Linked DNA regions of Homo sapiens: region 2 is linked to region 1. Evidence: promoter capture Hi-C in human tissues and cell types (Jung and others, 2019). All regions are on one chromosome and are shown on one strand. Each heading gives the region's core, a stretch centred on a gene start or on the middle of the fragment in contact. The rest is flanking DNA. Distances are from core to core; before and after follow the strand shown. Region 1 holds the start of ROR2 (receptor tyrosine kinase like orphan receptor 2). Region 2 has its middle 22 kb from the start of NFIL3.

Evidence for each region. The method cuts DNA at HindIII sites, captures the fragments that hold promoters and counts their contacts. A contact is called where the count stands out against the background at its distance.
Region 2: a fragment that was not itself captured here is called in contact with the fragment with the promoter of ROR2 in region 1 in 1 of the 25 tissues and cell types used here (mesenchymal stem cells).

What each region holds. Positions count from the first base shown.
Region 1 is chr9:91,948,425-91,952,120 of GRCh38, reverse strand. ROR2 (receptor tyrosine kinase like orphan receptor 2) reads left to right here and starts at 1,893. Exons shown (of 9, transcript NM_004560.4): 1 at 1,893-2,254. The coding sequence starts at 2,158. RefSeq lists silencers at 1,320-1,614, 1,728-1,907 and enhancers at 2,101-2,600, 2,601-3,102. The HindIII fragment of the contact is 10,523 bases long and covers 1-3,696 here.
Region 2 is chr9:91,444,154-91,447,849 of GRCh38, reverse strand. It overlaps a transcript of NFIL3 not described here. Among named protein-coding and RNA genes, the nearest start is that of NFIL3, 22 kb to the right of the region's middle. The HindIII fragment of the contact is 5,612 bases long and covers 1-3,696 here.

The DNA.
Region 1 (3,696 bases), core at 644-3,143:
GGCCTTGGACGTAAGCCATATTCTCTTAACCACTGAGAAAGCTTGTATTTTCATCCTTCCAACTTTGCTTTTTTTGTTTATCCTTCAGTTCAGAACCTACAGAAAGGGAAGGAGAGAGTGAGAGAGAAATGCCAAAAAAGAAAGCTTTAAAAGGCTTTTAAGAAATCATATGCAATATAACCCACATTTCTGACTCCACCCAAGAAACTGTCAGCAAAATATATGTTGCTGTTTAAACCTTTGAGTTGGGTTTGTGGGGCCTCAGTCATGTGAAAATAACACACAGATGGGGGCATGATGAGGTCATTTTCCTGAAGGTCACACAAAAATAAATGGCAGGGCTGCTGATGAAATGGTTCTGGAGCCACATGCTCACGCTGTGTGAAGTGGAAAGCAAAGGTGCTGGGACCACCTTCTCCGAGCTGCACAGCACCACGGAAAGGACACAGCATTGCTGAGGGAGGGGTTTTCCAGGGCAGGTTCAAGACCCTTCTCTGCAGCCCCTGTTGGGTTTTCCCTAGATCCAGAAGAGAGGGGTGTGGAACTAAGTGCTTCAGCACCTACTCTTAAAACATTACTCTAAAAGCATCCTTAAGGATTCTAAGGGAAGCTAAAGGGAGGAAAACCCCAAAGATAAACCCCTGGCAGTCCTCTAACCACTGGGGAGAGCAGCCCCCCCGTTCAGACCCGCACCAGCCTGGGCAGAGGAACAGCCTGAGCCCGTCTAAGAAGTTTGGTAATAATTTTGCCATCCAGTTGAGGAGGGGCTAGGATCTTCTCCCATTCTCCTACTGGATTTACAGCAGCTCCTGGGAATGAGAACTGCGTGAGATATTTCCCTACACAAATTGGGTAGAGATAGCCGGACGCCTAAATACTTTTAACAGAGGTAACAAGCTAGAGCTGGCTTAGTCATTTTGTCCGCAGACCATAGCAAGAGAGTTTTTATTTCTGGCCACGTCTGAGGCCTCACGTCTGGCACCCAAGGCCAGGGCTCTCCCTAATGCCCTCCAATTAACAGAGCTTGGTACTCCAGCAAAAACACCAAACAAACTGCTGGATAATCAGTTAAAAGATCAATCTCATGGAACAAGCAACTGAGATGCTGGAGAATCCAATTCCTTCCTCTAAGAGGAAAAACAAAGACATTTGCATGTGCTGAGCAAAACCAAGAATAAGCAAGAAAACATGCTATTTGAATTCCGTTCAAAATGTCTCTAATAAGTGAAGCAAATTCTGCACATTCTGGGCCTCTGCAGAGAACAAATAGTGTTCTGCCTTTAATGGGTAAAATTATACAATTTGCTTTTAACAGTAAACCAAAAGCCGCGGTGGCTTCGGATAGCATCGCGCTCCCGAGGGCTCCCTCCACGCAGCTCGACCCCTGGCAGTTTTGAGCATTTCGGGGGACGCGCTTGTCCCCACCGACCTGGGAGGGCGCCGGTGCCAAGGCGGCCTGTTTGTTTTCCTGAACATTTCCTTTTGCAACTTTCGCTTCTCCTCTTCCTGCCTCACCGCTGGTGTCTGGGGCTGGGTGGCTCTCAGATTTGTCCCGGTGCGCAGTGCAGCCTGGAGTTACTGATTTGTGACCTAGATCCCCGGGTGTGTCGCCCCCGAAAGTCGGGGGCACCCGCTCTGGGCGCCTCTCCTGCGTGGGCAGACCCGCCGAACTCCGGCTGACGCCCCCAAGGCGCCACCTTTGTGTTCAAGCGTTCCGAGGCGCAGGCCCGAGGGCGGGCGCAGGAGGCAGGTCCGGGGCCCCAGCTGCAGCCCCAGCTCCTTGGGTCCCGCCCGCCGCCCGCGCGTTCCCCCGGCAGGGGGCGCCGGCGCAAGCCTCGCTCTGCCCATCGGGGCGGGCGAGCGGGGACCCTGCCTCCTGCGCGCTCGCCCGCGGTCCGCCCCCCGCGCTCGTCCTGGCGGCCGGCGGGACGCCCCAGCCCGCGCCAAGGAACCTCCCCAGCCAGCCCTTGCCGTGGCCGGAGCCGAGCGGCGCATCCGGGCCGGAGAAGAGGACGACGACGAGGTCCTCGAAGTGGACCCGTTTGCGAAGCGCCAGGGAGAAGGAGGAGCGGACGCATCGTAGAAAGGGGTGGTGGCGCCCGACCCCGCGCCCCGGCCCGAAGCTCTGAGGGCTTCCCGGCCCCCACTGCCTGCGGCATGGCCCGGGGCTCGGCGCTCCCGCGGCGGCCGCTGCTGTGCATCCCGGCCGTCTGGGCGGCCGCCGCGCTTCTGCTCTCAGTGTCCCGGACTTCAGGTAGGATCTGGCGTTCCGGCTTGTGCGCAGACGGTAGCTCACGGCTCGCTTGGCCAGCCCTTCCGCCGCCACTATGCTCCCGGCCGCTGCGCCGGCGCCCATGCTCCTGAACGAGGGGCGCCAGGCAGGGCCATTCGCATCTCGCCCGACGCCGCTCCCGGCCCGCACCCCGGACCCCCTCGGGCTGGTTACAATAAGCCGCGCTCTGGGGACGCCTAAGTGTTTCCAGAGTCTGGGGGCGGGCGGCGGCGGCTGGGAGCCTCTCGGTGGCGCTTCCCGAGGGTCGCGAGTGGGAGTGCGAGTGTGAATGTGAGTACCCGCCCTGGGCCCGGGACCCGAGTCCGCAGATGTGCCCCGAGGGTCCCAGGACCCGGGCTTCCTCCCCGAGGTCTTCCTCCTTCAAGGGCACACGGCCCCGAGTGTCCCCCGTCTGTCTCGGAGCGTCCCCCCACCCCCAGGGCGGCCTGATGCCTGGCAGAATCCTGGGGTGGACGTGGCCCCGGAGAAGCGGCTCTTGCGGCGGGGGTGGGGGCGCCGGCGGCTCCCGGGTCCTGACTTTCCCAGCCCGCGGGCCGCTTGATGGAAACGGGCTCTTTGGCATCCCTTTTGTTGGTCCCTGAAACCTCCTCTCCCCCACCGCTCTGGGGTGGCCGAAGTGGTGTGTGATCTGGATTGAAATGGTTTGTGACTGGGATCGCGGGTCCCTGAGCGGCTGGGGCGCGGCCGCCTTCTGGCCGCGCCGGGGGGACCCCCGGGACCTGTAGGAGGCTGGCGGCGGGAGGGGCGGGGCCCGGCTCCTAGGTGGGTTTCCTCCCGGGGCCCCACTTCCCCCGAGTCCCTGCGCGGTTTCGGCTGCTTGGATCCGGGGCGCAGAGGAACGGCGGGGAGGTTCGGAAGTGCAGCTTGGGACCTGCCTAGGTTGCCTGGAGGAGGCGGCGTTAGCTCTGGCGGTGCAGACTCCGGGAGCACCTCCCGCCCGCGCGCCTCGGGCCGGATTCTCGGCACCCTGCGGGGGTGGAGGAGGGCGGGCGGGGCCTTCAGGCCCAGGAGCGCCAGAGACCTATGGGGTTCGCCTGAAGCCCCCGGAATGTGTGAGACACTTCTTACTAGTAAATGGGCTTCAGTATCCCCCATCCCTGCACTCCTGCAGGAAGGTGAGAATCGGGACAGTCGCAGGCTGGGAGACGCTCTGCTTTTCCTGCGTCCTGCTGGGAGCTGCGCGCTCCAGGTATCCTGGCCTGCCGCCCTAGCCGGCCCAAGGTACGCGAGTCAGAAAGGCTGCACAGTCTTTCCTGGGGGGGGGTTTTAGTTTAAGCAGATGTTGATTACGTCAGACATTCCTAATTACTTGATTTGGGAAGGGAGCTTGCGTTTATCTCACTGTGCATTAAAGCATAAACCGCTCAGAGTGCACAATAAAATAAGTAGACCACATTCTAAGT
Region 2 (3,696 bases), core at 445-2,944, 500 kb after region 1:
ATTGGGCTTCTTCAAAATTAAAAACTTTTGTGCATCAAAGAACACTGTCAACAGAGTAAAAAGGCAACTTACAGGATGGTAAAAAGAATATTTGCAAGTCATATAACTCATAAGGGTTCAATATCAAGAATAGAAAAAGAATTCTTAGAACTCAACAATAGAAAGACAACACAACTAAAAAGTAGTTAAAGGACTTGAATAAATATTTCTCCAAAGAAGATATACTCATAGTCAATAAGGATGCGATAAGATACTCAACATCACTAACCACTAGGGAAATGAAAATTAAAGAGGCACAATGAGATATCACTTCACAGATACTAGGATGGCTATAATTTTAAAAATGGAAAATAACATATGTTAGCAAGGATATGGAGAAATTGGAACTCTTGTGTGTCATTGGCATAAATATAAAATGGTGCAGCTCCTGTGAAAAACAATTTGCCAGTTCCTCAAGAAGCTAAACATAGGATTACTATATGAACCAGCAATTCCACTACTAGCAATCTCAATACCCAAAGGAATTGAAAGCAGGACTCAAACAGATACTGGAATGCCAGTGTTCATCACAGCATAGTTCATAATAGCTCAAAGTCAGAGACTACCCATGTATCCATCAACAGATGAATGGGTAAACAAAATGTGATATATACATACAAATGGAATACTATTCAGCTTTAAAATGAATGAAGTTCTTATATATGCTATACATGGTTAAGACTTGAAAACATCAGGGCCGGGCGCAGTGGCTCACATCTGTAATCCCAGCATTTTGGGAGGCCGAGGCAAGCAGATAACCTGAGGTCGGGAGTTTAAGACCAGCTTGGCCAACATGGTGAAACCCCGCCTCTACTAAAACTACAAAAATTAGCCAGGCATGGTGGTGCGGACCTGTAATCCAAGCTACTTGGGAGGCTGAGGCAGGAGAATCACTTGAACTCAGGAGGTAGAGGTTGCTGTGAGCCAAGACCATGCCATTGCATTCCAGCCTGGGCAACAAGAGCAAAACTCCATTGAAAGAGAGAAAGAAAGAAAGAGAGAGAGAGAGAGAGAGAGAAAGGGAGGGAGGGAGGAAGGAAGGGAGGGAGGGAGAGAAAACATCATACTTAGTAAAATAAGCTAGACACAAGAGCACGTATATTGTATGATTCCACTAATATGAAATACCTAAAATGGTCAAATGTATGGAGACAGAAAGTATATTAGAGATTACTAGAGGCTGAGGGGTGAAGGAAGAAGGAGTTATTGTTTATGGTTACAGAGTTTCCATTTGGAAGGATGAAAATGGTTTTGGAAATAGTGATGATGGTTGTACCATATTGCAAATGTAATTAATGCTATTGAATTGCACTTTTAAAATGGGTAAAATTAGGGGTGATTTCAGCAAGATGGTCAACTAGAAGTTCGTAGAACTCGTTGCCTTGCAACACACACAAAAACAAAACAATGAATATACAACTACATTTCAACCAAAATAACTAAAGGAGAACACTAGAGAAGAGAAAAGGAGCAACAGAAATCCTGTGAAGCACAGAAATCCAGTATGGCTACGTAGAGAAGGGAAGGAAACAGTTTGCCTCCACCAACTGGTCGCCCAGTAAGGATCAGCTCATAACCAGGAGAGACTTTCTCTCTGCAGGGAAAGGTAAGCAAGAGGACTCCTGAAACCCCCATCACCACTGTGGACATCTGCATTCTTCATTATTGGAGACTCCCACAGTCCTCACAGATTCTGATCCTAGTTAAGGGAGCTCCCCAGTGTCTACACACTGCACTACCCCAGAGAAAGAGCTGATGTTGTATCTCTCTCCTTGTGGTCTGAGCTGCTGCTGTTCTACACCGTCTTGGAATTAGGGCCACTGCCAGACTGTGTTCTGCTCCAGGGATGAGTAGCCATTGCACCTCTCCATCCCTGAGTCTTTGCTGCCACTGTACCATGCCCACATGATAGCATTACCATCTCTAAGTCAAGCTGTTACTACAACCTACCCCTGAGCTAAGCTACTGTGGAGACACTCCATCCCCCCGATTTCAGTCACTGGAGCACCCTGCCCTCAGGGTCTGAGCTAACACTCTTCCTCACTGCTCTGGGATCTCAAACCTCTGGCAGTTGCATCTCCAAGTACCATAGCTGAGGTAGTGCCCTGCTTTCTATGGACCCTAAGCTTCAGCCCTACAGAGCAGTCTTGCGCCCCCAGTGCCCAAGCCAATGCTGCACCCCACCCCTCAGAGAACTAGAGCCCCTGGCAATGTGTGTAGCCATACTCTGGAGCTGAGCTGATGTGGCACCTCATATTCCAGGGAAACTTACCCTTGGCTGAGCTGTTCTACCCCACCTTTTAGGCTCCACAGCTAAAGGCCCTGCCTCCCTAAAACTGGAGTAGTCCCCCAGAGTCCAAGCTGCTGAGGCATGCCCACTCCATGGGGAATAGAGTCATCACTGTCTACTCCCCGGTCCTCAGGGCCTAAGCCACAGCTGGGCCATTCCTGGGTCATTGCTGCTGCAACAACTGGCCTCACAGAGCCTGGGTTACTGTCATGCCTCACATTCTCAGAATCCAGAGTCACTACTGTGTGGTATCTCATCCCTCAGGGCCCAAGTTGTCACTGTTTCCTATTGGTTCTGGGACCTGAACTGCAGTTGTGCCTTGCTCCCCAGGGCCAAACCCTCAGAGTACCCCTTCTTCCCAGAGCCAAGTCAGTACTATGCCCTGACCACCAGGACCACAGTCATAGCTACAACCTAGCTCCATGGGCCTCAGCTGCTAGGATATGCCTCAGAGCAACAGACCCCAGCTTTATTAGAGAACTAAAGCCACTTGTGCCTCAGAGAGTGAACTGAACCTCAAGTCCCAGGTCCTATAGTAGTTTTGCAAGACCCTGAGCCCAGCCCAGGACTCTGGCTCTACAGACACTCAGAGCACCTGGGCCCTGGATCCCAGCACCATTACCTGTGGGCCATGTCAGGCTTGAAACGAAGAGAGATTCCTTCAGCTAAGACACTTCAGCTAAGTGGTGGAGAAGAAAAGTACAGGAGAATCTCTAAAGCTCTTGCCACCAAGAATCCTAATAACATATGCTGCCACCACTGTTGCCACAAAATCTTGCAGCCTAGACCACTGAGGCACCCACAGTCATTGCTGATGTTCATCACAGGTAAAGAAGCTACATGGAGAATTACATAACTACACCCACCTGGGACCAGACCCATCACGCCCTGCCCAATTGTCTCCCTCAAGCCCATCTGTGGGTGAAAATCTTTCCCAACAAAAGCCACTGTGTAAAGTTTGAGAGAGGTGACTGCTCCACCAGATGCACAAACGTCAATGCAGGATACAAGAAACACAAAAAACGAAGGAAATATGATACCATCAAAGGAACACAACAATTCTTCAGTAACTGACTCCAAGAAAATGAAAATTTACCAACTGCCTAAAAAAGAATTCAAAATAATGATTTAAAGGAAATCCAGGAAGATACAAAAGAATACAGATAGATAATTCAATGAAATCAGGAAAACAGTTTATGATCTGAATGAGAAATTCAATAAAGAGATAGATATCATTTTTTTTAAAACCACACATAAATCTTAGAATTAAAGAATTTGATCAATGAAATGAAAAATACAATCAAGAGCTTCAACAGCAGACTAGATCAAGCAGAAGAAAGATTCTGTGAACTTGAAGATAGGCTGTT